Linked DNA regions of Homo sapiens: regions 1, 3 and 4 are each linked to region 2. The links are contacts of gene promoters, found by promoter capture Hi-C in blood cells and fetal thymus (Javierre and others, 2016). All regions are on one chromosome and are shown on one strand. The core of a region is centred on a gene start or on the middle of the fragment in contact, and the rest is flanking DNA. Distances in the headings are between cores, read along the strand shown. Region 1 has its middle 20 kb from the start of LINC03139. Region 2 holds the start of CDH23 (cadherin related 23). Region 3 overlaps CDH23 (cadherin related 23). Region 4 overlaps CDH23 (cadherin related 23).

What was found. The method cuts DNA at HindIII sites, captures the fragments that hold promoters and counts their contacts. A CHiCAGO score of 5 or more calls a contact.
Region 1: a contact is called between a fragment that was not itself captured here and the fragment with the promoter of CDH23 in region 2, in 7 of 17 cell types (naive B cells, erythroblasts, total B cells and 4 more). The highest score is 6.3, in naive B cells.
Region 3: a fragment that was not itself captured here is called in contact with the fragment with the promoter of CDH23 in region 2 in 3 of 17 cell types (endothelial precursors, megakaryocytes and M2 macrophages); the score reaches 7.0 in endothelial precursors.
Region 4: a contact is called between a fragment that was not itself captured here and the fragment with the promoter of CDH23 in region 2, in 5 of 17 cell types (endothelial precursors, megakaryocytes, total CD4 T cells and 2 more). The highest score is 6.4, in endothelial precursors.

The regions. Positions count from the first base shown.
Region 1 is chr10:71,896,154-71,899,172 of GRCh38, reverse strand. No RefSeq gene overlaps it. Among named protein-coding and RNA genes, the nearest start is that of LINC03139, 20 kb to the right of the region's middle. The HindIII fragment of the contact is 1,602 bases long and covers 965-2,566 here.
Region 2 is chr10:71,395,148-71,398,324 of GRCh38, reverse strand. It overlaps CDH23 (cadherin related 23), which reads right to left and starts at 1,405. Exons shown (of 70, transcript NM_022124.6): 1 at 1,007-1,405. RefSeq lists an enhancer at 602-1,113 and a silencer at 1,797-1,886. The HindIII fragment of the contact is 8,970 bases long and covers 1-2,724 here.
Region 3 is chr10:71,651,809-71,655,144 of GRCh38, reverse strand. The region is part of intron 14 of CDH23 (cadherin related 23); the gene reads right to left. Among named protein-coding and RNA genes, the nearest start is that of C10orf105, 66 kb to the left of the region's middle. The HindIII fragment of the contact is 630 bases long and covers 1,210-1,839 here.
Region 4 is chr10:71,677,820-71,681,209 of GRCh38, reverse strand. It overlaps CDH23 (cadherin related 23), which reads right to left. Exons shown (of 70, transcript NM_022124.6): 17 at 1,718-1,823. Among named protein-coding and RNA genes, the nearest start is that of C10orf105, 40 kb to the left of the region's middle. The HindIII fragment of the contact is 1,597 bases long and covers 894-2,490 here.

The DNA.
Region 1 (3,019 bases), core at 516-3,015, 500 kb before region 2:
CCAGCACTTTGGGAGGCTGGGGAGAGTGGATCACGAGTCCAGGAGTTCAAGACCAGCCTGGCCAAGATGGTGAAACCCCATCTCTACTAAAAATACAAAAATTAGCCAGGCGTGGTGGCAGGCGCCTGTAATCCTAGCTACTTGGGAGGCTAAGGCAGAGAATTGCTTGAACCCGGAAGGCAGAGGTTGCAGTGAGCCGAGATCGCACCACTGCACTCCAGCCTGGGTGACAAAGTGAGACTTGATCTCAAAAAAAAAAAAAAAAAAAAAAAAGACAACTAAGGCTAGACAATGAAGACTGCAATAAATACTGAACTCTTCAATGCCCAGACACCGAAGAACATCTGCTAGCAGCATGACCCAGGAAAACATGACCTCCCCAAATGAACCAAATTAGACACCAGGGACCAATCCTGGAGAAACAGAGCTCTGACCTTTCAGACAGAATTCTGTTTGAGGAAACTCAAAGAAATTCAAAATAACACAGAGAAGGAATTCAGAATTCTATCAGATACATTTAACAAAGGGATTGAAATAATTAAAAAACATCCAGAGCAGAATTTCTGGAGCTGAAAAATGCAATTGGCATACTGAAGAATGCATCAGAGTCCTTTAATAGCAGAATTGGGCTGGGCGCAGTGGCTCATGCCTGTAATCCCAGCACCTTGGGAGGCCGAGATGGGTGAATCACCTGAGGTCAGGAGTTGGAGACCAGCCTGGCCAACATGGTGAAACTCCGTCTCTACTAAAATTGCAAAAATTAGTTGGGCATGGTGGTGGGCACCTGTAATCCCAGCTGCTCGGGAGGCTGAGGCAAGAGAATCGCTTGAACCTGGGAGGTGGAGGTTGCAGTGAGCTGAGATCTGGCCACTGCATTCCAGCCTGGGCAAGAGAGTGAGACTAAACAACAAAAAGTTAAAAAGTTGCCAAGACAGTATTAAATTGAAACAAAAATCAAGAAGCTTTTAAAAACAAAGTTAAAAAGCAGGAGATGCTGGGCACCATGGCTCATGGCTGGAATGACAATACATTAGGGGGCCGAAATGAGAGGATCACTTGAGCTTGGGAGCTTGAGACCAGACTGGGCAACATGGTGAGATCCCCATCTCTACAAAAAAAAAAAAAAAAACCCCAAAAAACAAAAAAAACAAAAAAAACTTAGTCGGATGTGGTGGCACATGTTTGTAGTCTGTGGTGGAAGGTGAGCCATGATTGTGCCACTGCATGCACACCAGCCTGGGTAACAGACTGAGACTCTGTTTCAAAAAAAAAAAAAAAAAAATGCGAGGGGACTAAGTTAAGAGGTAGTTTTGTTTGTTTGTTTTGTTTTGAGACAGAGTCTTGCTCTGTCAGCCAGGCTGGAGAGCAGTGGCACAATCTCGGCTCACTACAATCTCGGCTCACTGCAACCTCTGTCTCCCAGGCTCAAGCTATTGTCCTCCCTCAGCCTCCTGAGTAGCTGGGATTACAGACACGTGCCACCATGCCCAGCTAAGTTTTGTATTTTTAGTATAGATGGGGATTCACCATGTTGTCCATGCTGGCCTCGAACTCCTGACCTCAAGTGATCTGCCTGCCTTGGCCTCTCAAAGTGCTGGGATTACAGGCATGAACCACCATGCCCAGCCAGGAATCACATTTCAACATGAGATTTGGAGGACAAACGTCCAAACCGTATCAACCTTTATGCTTCTTTTTGGCTTCCAGGAAAAACAAGACCCCTCTCTCAGGTGCCCTTAAAGAACCCCATCCTTTTTCACAGCATCTAACCAAACTTTGGTTTTTTGAGACTAAATTTTTTTTGTTCCCTCACCAAATTATAAGTCCCATGTGGGCAGGACCTGGGCCCCTTTTGCTTCTCACTGTGTCCTCAGTGACTAGGACAGTGCCTGGCACTTTGCAGGTGCTCAAACATCTTTTCTTGGTTACATGAAAGAGTGAATGGCTTTTTTGAGCACCTACTAGAGATTAAAAGTTTTATAGATGTCAAGTTTTCCTAAAGCCAAGCACAGTGGTGGCCCGGTTTGGCACTCAATAACTTACTGAGTCCTTGCCACCCAGGTCTGCGTTCTGTCTCTCTGGGTTTAGGGGTCTGGGATGTGGCCTTCCCTAGGGCTGCTATGAGTTGCTGTGGAGGCAGAGAAGACAAGGCTTAGCCTGCTAGCTGGAGCACTTCAGGCATCATTACTGTGGGCAGCTCTGTGAGGTCACTCCTGCCCCAATCCCTGGGCACCCGGCTGAGTGTGAGGCTTTGAGGACCAACCTAGAGATTAGGAACAGGGTTTTAGGCCAGGCATGGTGGCTCATGCCCATAATTCCAGCACTTTGAGAGACCAAGGTGAGAGGGTCACTTGACCCGAGGAGTCGGGGATCAGCCTGGGCAACATAGTGAGTCCCCTTAGCTACACTTAAATTTAAAAAAATAGAAAAGAAGGAACAGAAAATAGAAAAGAAGCAAATAGAAATAGAAAAGAAAAAGAAAAGCAAGTATAATAGAAATAGAAAAGAAGCAAATACTGTATTCTTCTGCCGTCTCATGGTCAGTCCTAGAATAGCAAGGGAAGCTTCCCCACCTCTCTGGTACTATACTGGGAGTGACCGCCAGAGGGCAGTGTTCTCCACATTGTTGCACCCAATAGGTGTCCCACCACACAAACCCAGCTCTTTAAAAAGTAGATTTTTTTCTTATCCAAAGTCGATTCATACAAAAAGAAAAAGAAATAAAAAATAAATTATTTTAATGGCTTCATTGCTACATGTTTGTTTTTTTGAAAAGGAGTCTTGCTCTGTCGCCCAGGCTGGAGTGCAGGGGGGTGATCTCCCCTCACTGCAACCTCCGCCCCCTGGTTTCAAGCGATTCTCCTGCCTCAGCCTCCGAGTAGCTGGGTTTACAGGCATGAGCCACCACGCCCGGCTAATTTTTGTATTTTTAGTAGAGACAGAGTTTCACCATGTTGGCCAGGCTGTTCTTGAACTCCTGACCTCAAGTGATCTGCCCACCTTGGCCTCCCAAAGTGCT
Region 2 (3,177 bases), core at 156-2,655:
GCAAAGGACGTAGAAAAAGAAGGCTCTGCTTTCTGAATTACTAGGGAGGATGGGGGAGTATTACTACCGAGGAAAGGCTAATTTCCTCCCAGTGGACCGCTGACAGCACTAGGGCTGGGGCTGGGGTCGCAGTGGGGCGGCGGCTGGCATCGGATCTCCGCTCACAGCACGGAGGCAGCCTCTCTAGGTGCCCGCTCCGAGAAAGCCAGGCAGAGTCCCCGCCGGCTGGCGCCGTCACTGCCTTGGAACACGCGGGCTCTGCTCGAGTCCTGGGCTGACCTACGGTGGAGATGAGGGGCAGTGCTCCCGGGTGCCAGCTCCTGGGGGCAGCCAGCACCGCTCGTAGCGGACCAGTTCCAGGGCCAGGAAGGCGAAGCGAGAGCCGCAAAAGGCTCCCGGCTCCTCGAGGGGCGCGTCTTCCCATAGCTGGACCGAATTTGGGAGGATGTGTAAGTCCCCTGGGGTCTCCCGCGGGCACAGGGACTTGATGAGGGGAGGGGAGAACTACGTGCCTTTAGTTCCCCTCAGCGCCTCTGCCCAGCCCGCAGTAGGGGTGCGCCCCACCCCATCCCCACTGTCCAAATGGGGACCCAGGGCTCAGAAGGGGAGGGGATTGGATCCCAACGCGCTCCACTCTCGAAAATCTCTCCACCCCAGACCTGGACCCTCTCCGTAGCGCCGAGAGCAAAGCCCCCAAATGTTCGCGGTCCCAGGACCGGGGATGGGGGATGGGATGCCTGTCCTCCCAAGGCCAACGCGAATGGAATTCGAGTTCCCAGGAATCAAAGTTGCCGCGCGTCGGGGAGCTCGGAGCGGGGCGCGAGGCTAGGGCCAGGGGCCTGGGACCGAAGGATGCCGCGAGCGCCCGCCACGGGCGATGGCCGCGCTGGGAACAAGTGGTTCGGCAGCCGCGGTCACCACCAACTTCCCCGCCGCGCGGCGGGCGAACGGCGAGGGGAAGGAGAGGGAAGCGAGGAGGGAAGAGGCGGTGCGTGGCTCCGGGTACCGTGTGCGTGTGTGCAGCGGCGCCGCGCCTCGCCTCGCCTCGGGCTCTGCTCTCCGCCGGATCGGCCCCCGCGGGCCGCCTGCTCTGGCCCTGGCCACCGCCGCGTCTTCCCGCCGGCGCGAAGGCTCATCCGCGGCGTGCCGGCAGCTCCTGGGTCTCCGCGGGCCGCTCGCCGCTCGCCGCTCGCCGCTCGCAACTTCAGGCGCGCCGGGGGCTCGGACTGGGCGCGCCCCAAACGTCCAGAGGCTCTGCCACCCCGCGCTCCATGCCCAGGCCGGGCTGACTAGCCCCGACCACCTCAGCGTCCGGCCGCCGTCGGACGCGTCCTCTAGCCAAGCATCGCGCCTGCAGCCCGCGTCCCTCTCTCCCGAGCCGCCGCCGCCGCTCAAGTCCGCGATCAACTTTCCCTTGCTTCCCCCGCCCCGCTCGGCCCCCGCCCCGCTCGGCCCCCGCCGTCCAGACCCCGCCTCCCGCAGCTCCCTCCCTCACCTCCCGCCTCGCCCGGCCCCCGCCCGCCCGCCCGCGCTCGGCGCTCCCCCACCCCTCAGGCCGCCAGGACCCCCGAGCTCCCGCCCGGCCCCGCCCGGACCCCCGGGAGCGGCGCCGAGCCCCGCCGGGCGCTCAGGGCATGAATATTTCAGTGCTGGCGAAGCTGCCCTCTGCCGATGTCATGGCACCGGCTGCTGTGGCAACTCTACGAATCCCCCAAAGGGGCAGGGAGGAAGCCCGCGGAAGAGGCCCCAGGTGCGAGACAGAGCAGTGCCCCGCCAGGCCGCCAGCCGTCCCGCAGAGGGGCGCGCAGGGGGATGGGGCCCCCAGCGTCTCGTCCGCCCCGCGCCTCAGGCAGAGCGAGGTAACGCTCCCGGGAAGCCCGGGCGGGCGAGCGGGCGCTCGGCCTAGGTGAGCCCGCGCCATCTGTTGGCTTTAAGCGCCCCCTCTCTGCTCCCAGAGTCGCTGAGCAGTCCCTCTAGTCCTTGGGGCCTCTTGGCCTACGCTTCTCTCCAACCAGCTGCCTTTGCCCACCCGACTCGTGCGCTCCCATCTGCGCCTCCTCCCTCACTAGAGCTCAAGAGGCCTCCAAGTGCTTAGAAATGGAGGACCCCGGGTTGGAGGAGACCCGTGAGGTCACTTAGGCGCCCTCACCCCTGCGGGAGCTCCGTCTGCAGTGCCCGAGTCATGGTCTCCCGGCTCCTTTTTGCACACCTATAGGGACAGAGACTTTATGGCTTTCTGAGACAGCTGGATCAAGAAAGGGTCCATATGCAGGTAATGGAAGAGGTTTATCCCCTACCTTTGATCTTTACTTCCCCGGGGCTAAGCATTCTGATTTTTTAAAACTATTTCTCACATGACAGGATTTCCGAGCTGTCACTGTTCCAGTCAGTACATTGACAGTACCTGCCTGGAGCCAGGCTCTGGGCTGAGACTTTCTGGGCCTCAACTCATTCTATCTTCAATAAAGTCTTTCTGGTGGGCCCTGCCATTATCCCAGTTTTACAGTGAGAAACAGGCTTTAGGAGGTTGGGGACTTGCCCCTGTGGTGGAGTCGGGTATTGAACCCAGAATCTATCTGGTTCCAAAGCTCCAGTTCCTTACCATTCGCTCATTCATTATTCATTCATTCATTCACAGTCACTGCTATGTGCTAGCTAACTGAAATAGTTTCTAGGAATAGGATGGAGAACAAAACAGGCTTGGTCTTTGTGCCCCATGAAGCTTCTCTAGTAGGGGAACCAGACATTCATCAATGAAACACATAAGCAGGTAAAATTACAGCCAGAATCAGTGCTAGGAAGAAGAGTGCTTTAATGGCGCCTGGCCGAGGGGATCAGGGAAGACCTCCTAGAGGAGGTGACTGAGCTGAAGGATGAGCAAGGGAGAGAGAGTGGAGTTTTAGGCAGGAGAAACAGCATGTGCAAAGGCCCCAGGTGCCCACTGCAGGCAACGGCTGGGCCAGGAACAATGGTTTGGTGACCGCAGTCGCAATCAACTTGTGCAAAGGTGGGAAGGAGCTGGCATATGTCAGGAAGTCCAGAAAGGGTGGGGAGAGCTCCGTGCCTCCAGCGTACGAGGAAACGCTCCTGGGAAGCTTGGGAGGGTGAGTGAGCCTGCACCATCTGTTGGCTTTAAGCACCCCCTCTCTGATCCGAGTCACTGAGTGGTCCCTCTAG
Region 3 (3,336 bases), core at 275-2,774, 260 kb before region 2:
GATTTGCAGGTTTCCCTTCTGCTCTCCTGCTTCCTTTTGTGCCCTCCAGGAGGAGGTGAGGGAAATTGTGGCATCATGGCACTGTGCTCATGCATGACTGCTCAGAAGTGGTATGGAAAAGTGACCTCTGAGTGTTTCTATGACATTTACGTGTGTGTAAATTCTTGGACGTTCTCTCCATTGACAGCTGGGGAGATCTACGTCCTCTCTCCTTGAATCTGGACTTGCCCTGGTGACTTAAAACCAACAGAATTCAGCAGAAATGATGCAGTGTGACTTGGAGGCTGGGTTGAAAAACGCCACGCAGCTTCTGTCTGGATCTCTTGGGACACTCCTCCCCCAGAGGCCTCCCTGGGGGTGCGCCTGCTCAGAACTCCCATGCTGGGAGATGTCCGGACACGTGGGGAGGCTACATGTGGGTGCTTGGGCCACAGTCCGGCTGCACTCACCCTTCAGCCAAATGAGCCAAGGGCACAGTCGTGGCAGGGTGAGAACACCATCAGAATGGATCCTCCGGGCCCTCTGTTTCCAGACTCCAGCTGGTCGAGTCACCTCAGATCCCAAGGAAAGAGAAGGCCTCCCTACCGCACCCTTTCTGTATTCCTGACCCACCAAATCCATGAGCCATTTGTATTAAAAACAGCTATTGCTTTATGCCACTAAGTTTGGGTGGTTTCTTATGCGGCAATAAGAACTGAAGCAAGCTCTGTGGGAACAGAAGGCCCCAGCACTTCAGCCTTTGCTGACTGTTGACTGAATGTAGGGATCGATGAAAACCGTGGAGAGCCACTGAGTTTATTTGGGCAGAGAATGATAAACTCCTGTGCCAGGGCAAGCCACGTAAGCTGCAGGGCCCAGAGTAACATGAGCACGCAGGGCCTCTGTTCAGAAATTATCAGAATTTCAAGATGGTGACAGCAGAGCATTCCACCAAGTTTGGGGCCCTTCCGAGTCCATGTCCCCAGACCACCGCACAGGTCGCACACCTGGCAGCAACTATCGTCTGCGTCCCTCCGAAGAGGCTTGGTTCTCACCTGCAAGCTTGTTTAACCTTTCTCTGTGTTCTGTTCCTTGAGGCTAGACTCAGTGTGTTGGCTTCCCGGGGTTGAGCACAGACAAAAACTCAACCAACGCACCAACTGAGAGGACCCAGAGTCTAGGGAAGTCACAGCCAAAGGCAGAAAATCTAGGAACCAAGAGACCCAAGCTTAAATACCAATGCTCTCTGAAGTTCCACCGACTCCCAGATAAGACACCTGCCATTTACCCAGTGCCTTCTAATACACAAAGTGCTTTAAATGCCCCGTCTCTCTTCATTGTGGGATAAGTATTATTATTATTCTCTCTACAGCACACTCTGGAGACTGAGGGTCAGGACACAGCTAAGCACCTGCCCAGGGCCATAGAGACAGCAGGCAGCAGAGCCAGAATTTGAAGCTGGGTTTCTGGTTCCAAAGCCTTGCTCCTATAGCAAGGTTCCCTCCTGCAGTAGTAGATAGATACAGCTGAGAGGCTTCCACAGATGTTGCAGAGCAACATGTCCTTCTGCTGGGGGCAGAGGGACCAGGGAGGAACTGGGGTTTGCCCCAGGGAGCACCAAGACTAAGACAGGCAGTGAACTGGCTTTCCTGGATCATCTGGCTGGGCTATTAGGTTTCCAGCACCTTGAGTAGAACCCATGTTAGAGTTCTTGGATTCAGCAGCATGGAGGGACAGGGGTGATCTCTGAGCCTGAAGGCTGGGGGTGTCCTGACAGTTACAGAGCAGAGGGAGAGGCCCTGTGGCCTTACAGCTGGTGGAACAGGCCTGCTGCATTTGAAGTCCTCCAGGATTGAAGCTTGCCTTCAACACGGCCAGCCCAGGGCAATGACATCATACCCACCTTTTCCTTGTGGGGTCAATGCTGTGGGTGGGAGGGGAAGGAGAGATGGGGACAAACAGCAATGGGGCTGACATTGATGCAGCAGGGCTGTCTGCTGATGTGGCAGGAGAGGGAGGCTGGGCTGGACCAGGAGGAAAAGCCAGTTAGCTCTAGGAGGGGGAAGTGAAGTCCTGGGGAATCTTCCTGAGACTTCCAGATGGGAGCTGAGAGAGGAGGGGTAGGGCAGGAGACGGGCTCTAGAGGCCAGTGGGTGGGTGGGGACCCTTGCAGGGTGGGTGGCACGTTCATGTTGCTGGGCATGAAACTAAACAGCAAGAATGGCTCCCCTTTCTCCTTGGACAGTGCAAATTGGAATTAAAGCCTCACCAACCCAGAAGGCCCTGAACCAGCCCCTGGCCCAGTCATCTCACTGGGACCCAGAGGTTCAGTGACTGGCCAAGGTCACATGGCTGCCTGAGGCAGGGCCACAGCTCTGAGGGTGGTGTCCTTGCCCAGGGCCCGTGCTCCCTGGAGGCTCAGCCAGGAGGCCAGGCATGACTTGCTGACATTTCCAGCGTGTGTTCCTAGCCAGCCTCTGTGCTGTGTCTTCATGAATCATTTCATTTGATTCTCACAACAATCCTCCAAGGTAGGCTCCTAGCAGGTTATCTCCCCCAGCTCACAGAAGAGGAAACTGAGGCCCGGTGTCTTGTCCAGGGTCCACTGCGGCAGAGCTGGGCTTGTCCACAGGCCGAAGGGCTGGTGGGCAGCCAGGTGAGACCCTGAAGGCCAGTGATGAAAATACCCACTCCTGCCATCTGTAAATCTTACCTGTTTACACCACATCACTGCAATGGGTCTCCCAACAACCCAGCACTGCAGGCTGCGCAGGCACTACTTTCCCATTTCATAGGAAAAAAGCCAAGTCCCAGAGAAGGAGTGACCAGCTCATAGTAAGACAGGATTGCAGGGACTCCCTGGATGTCTTGTGGCCCTGCCCAAGATGCTGCCAGCCTCCCAAGGACAGGCTGGGAAGAGGGGGCAGGGAGATGAGAGAGGAGCAGGCTTTTAGGCCACCTCCAGCCAGCCCTGTCTGTCTGGAGCTGAGAGGTGGAGCTCTACCCACGGCTCAGCAAACCACAAGCTGGTCCTGGGGCCCCACACCTGCCCAGTCAGGACTTTTCAGGGCCTCTCCTTTCTTGGCTTCCTCCGACTGGGGAAGAAGCCTGTCTTGTCTGAAGTCCATCTTCTGCCCATTTCTGCCATGCCCCACCCCCTGCAGCAGGGATAGAAGGCCTTGGAGCTCAGTAAGCCCTGCGCCAGGGGGGCTGCCACCCTTCCTCAGCACTTCGCCTCTCCCACTGCCCAGAGGACATGGAGCTAATAAATAGAGGGACACGTGCCCCATGCTGCAAGAGGCCAAGCTGGCTCCTCACACATCCTAGGTACCACCTCTGCCAACTGTTTCCCAAACG
Region 4 (3,390 bases), core at 443-2,942, 280 kb before region 2:
AGGGGGATTCTTCTAGTTGAGAGGAGGGTGAGGTATGGGGCAGGCAGAAGCATGGAACTTTTAAGTTTTTGAAAGAGGGATGGGCCAGGCACAGTGGCTCACACCTGTAATCCCAGCACTTTGGGAGGCTGAGGCAGGAGGATGGCTTGAGGTCAGGAGTTCAAGACCAGCCTGGCCAACATTAGCAAAACCCCATCTCTACTAGAAATACAAAAATTAGCTGGGCGTGGTGGCACGACTGTAATCCCAGCTACTCGGGAGGCTGAGGCTGGAGAATTGTATGAACCCACAAGGCGGAGGTTGCAATGAGCCGAGATCGAGCCACTGCACTCCAGCCTGGGTGACAGAGTAAAACTCTGTCTCAAAAAAAAAAAAAAAAAGAAAAAGAAAAAAAAAAAAGAAAGACAGAGGGATGTAGATTTCATAGAGAATGCAATTTCTTTTTCTTTTTTTTTTTTTTTTTGAGACGGAGTGTCACTCTGTCACCAGGCTGGAGTGCAGTGGTGCAACCTGGGCTCCCTGCAACCTCCGCCTCCCAGGTTCAAGTGATTCTCCTGCCTCAGCCTTCCGAGTATCTGGGATTACAGGTGCACACCACCACGCCTGGCCAATTTTTGTATTTTTAGTAGAGACAGGGTTTCACCATGTTGGCCAGGCTGGTCTCAAACTCCTGACCTCAATTGATCCGCCGGTCTCGGCCTCCCAAAGTGCTGGGATTACAGACGTGAGCCACCGCGCTGGTCAGAACTGCAATTTCTACAGTGGCATTTCTCTGAACTGAACTAACTGTGGGGTAGTGGGAGGAATGACCACTGGACCCAGAGTCACTCAACGCACATCGATTCCTTCTGCCCTGGGGGCACCTAACCCAGGCTCCAGGAATCAGAGAAGCTTCCCAAAGGAGGAGGTGTTAAATGAGCCCTTAAAGCTAGCCAGGGGCTACACACTGGACAGCCAAAGGGAGGCAGGACCAAGGGGCAAGGAGGAAGGGCTTTCCTGGCAGAAGGAACAAACTCTGCAAAGACATGGGGGTGAACACCAGTAAGGGGAGACAGTGTCAAAGTGTTCAAAGAGGCTGGACTCTGGTGGGGCAAGGGCTGCTGAGAGCTGAGGCTCGCAAGGCAACCAAGGGCCAGACCACACGGGGACTTGGTGCCAAGCTCAGCAGCTTTGCAGGGTGAGCTCAGGCAAGTTGCTCCCTGTCTCTGGGCCTTAGCTGCTTTATCTGAAAAACAAAATAGTCTCTCTTGGGATCTTGGAGCTTGAGGTTGCTGCTATTTCCTACCAGGGCTCTAGGGATGGGGACCCACAGCAGGCAGCAGGGCATGGTGCAGAGTGCCTGGTCCCACACGGCCGCCCAAAAAGTAGGGAGTCTTGGCTAAAGAGCTTCCATCCCACGGACCTGCCTGCAGCCTTGGTAAGAAACAGAGAACCCCAGAGATTCTGTTAACATCACACTTCTGGCTCGATTGCAGGGCTGGCCATGGCCTAAGAACCAGAGAGAGATCCTGCTGATGAGGGACACAGATGTTGACCCTACGGAAGGGCGACTCAGGCCACATCCTGCTCCACCCCAGGTGCTCCGGGCAGCTTCCTGAGTAGCCCAGAGTGTCAGGGAGACAAGGAGTGCCCGCCTCATCCCCACAAGGGAGGTGTGAGTGCAGAGAGCCCCCCAGCCCTCCTCCTGGCTGGGCCCCGAGTTCTGCCCCACACCTACCTCCATAGCCCTCGTACAGGCTGATGTCGAAGTAGCTGCCAAAGGCAGATGCACTGACAATGCTGTAGGTGATCTGGTTGTTGGGAGGGGAGTCTTCATCTGTTGCCTGAAAGGAAGAGGGCAGACAAGGGCCGTGAGCCTGCAGGAGACTGGGGGCCAGAAGAGGGTGGGCAGCTGGGAGGGTGGGGAAGACTGGCCCTGTTCACAGCTCCTTTTTTGGGTGATCCAGCCCTGGGTCTTGTCCTGGCCCAGGACGCCAGGAGGCACCCCTTGTGCTTCAACTGGAGGCCGCACTCTGGCTCCCAGCAGACGCCCTGCTCCCCTCCATGTGCTGGGTGTGGAGGCAGCCTGGGGAATCTAGAGGGCAGGTGGGAGGCGCAGGAATAATGCAGAGGCCGGGCCTTCCCAGAGGCTGAGACACAATTACCTCCCACCCCCAACCCCAGCTGGAACACCCCCACCTGCAGATGCCCTCCCTGACTCCCGGAGCCGGTTAGGGCCCTAGGGTTGCATACCCCATTGGTCCCCTTACACCCAGTGGTAATTTCTTATCTAATTTCTGCCTCCCTCACTTAGACCGTCAGCTTCATGTGAGCAGGAACCTTGTTTCTTGATTGCTGCTGCATACCTACAGGCCAACACAGTATTTGGCCACAGTGGGTGTCTAATCCATGCATGTTGCATGAAAGCAAGGAGGAAAGAAGGCACCTGGAGTGGGGCCAGGGATCCCTCTACCCCTTGACTGTCTTCTCTGGGAGCTGAATTAATAAGCTTCTTTCCAGGTTGTCCCTCACTCTAGAGCCTCCAGTGGTCCCCACCACTCCGGGTACACCTGGAGCTGAGCAGGGAGGGCAGGGCAGGACAGGGTTGTACGGGGGGCCGTGGCCAGGCTGGGCGGGCACATGTTCTGTTCTTCTTGGTATCCCCTGTGCTCACCCTTCCAGCCTTGCCTTCATCCCTACCTGCTTCAGAAACAAGTTCCAAATGGAGGCTCTGGGTCCCATCCCTTGGGGTAGGCAGCATGGGGAAGGGGGGACATTTAAAAGTCTCTGGTTAAAGGTCACTGAAGCCTAGTGGGGGACTTGCTGCAGGAAGCACTTGGAGAATAGCATTCCGGGACTAGACCTGGCTCTGCTACCCGACTATGTCTTCGTGGGCAAGCCTCCTCCCCTCTGGGTTCCCCTTCTGTAAAATGGGGTTGCACTCCATGGTCTCTGTGGCTCCTTCCAGCTGCAGCACTTCCTGATTCTAGTCAGTCGTTAAAGGGCTTGGAGGAGGTCCTGACACAGGGAACTGCTCCCCACTCAATGCCCTTGCTAAGGGAGATGGCAGTGGATGGGTCGGGGGGTGGGATCTTTTGCTAAATTCTGACCTAATATTTAAGCTGAGACAGACACTGTGTATAAAGCCCCACTTGGTACCAAGGATATGAGGCGTTGCTCAGAGAAGGCCCAACACAGACCAAGAATTTGACTCTGAAATCTGTGCAGTATTCTTTGCGGATAGAAGGTCAGCCCCTCTTGCAGTGGGTTCCCTAGGGGGTTGGTCAAGAAGAAAGCACAGGCTAGGCACGGTGGCTCAAGCCTGTAGTCCCAGCTGCTAAGGAGGCAGAGACAGGAGGATTGCTTGAGCCCAGGAGTTTGGGGCCGCAATGAACTCTGATTGTACCACTG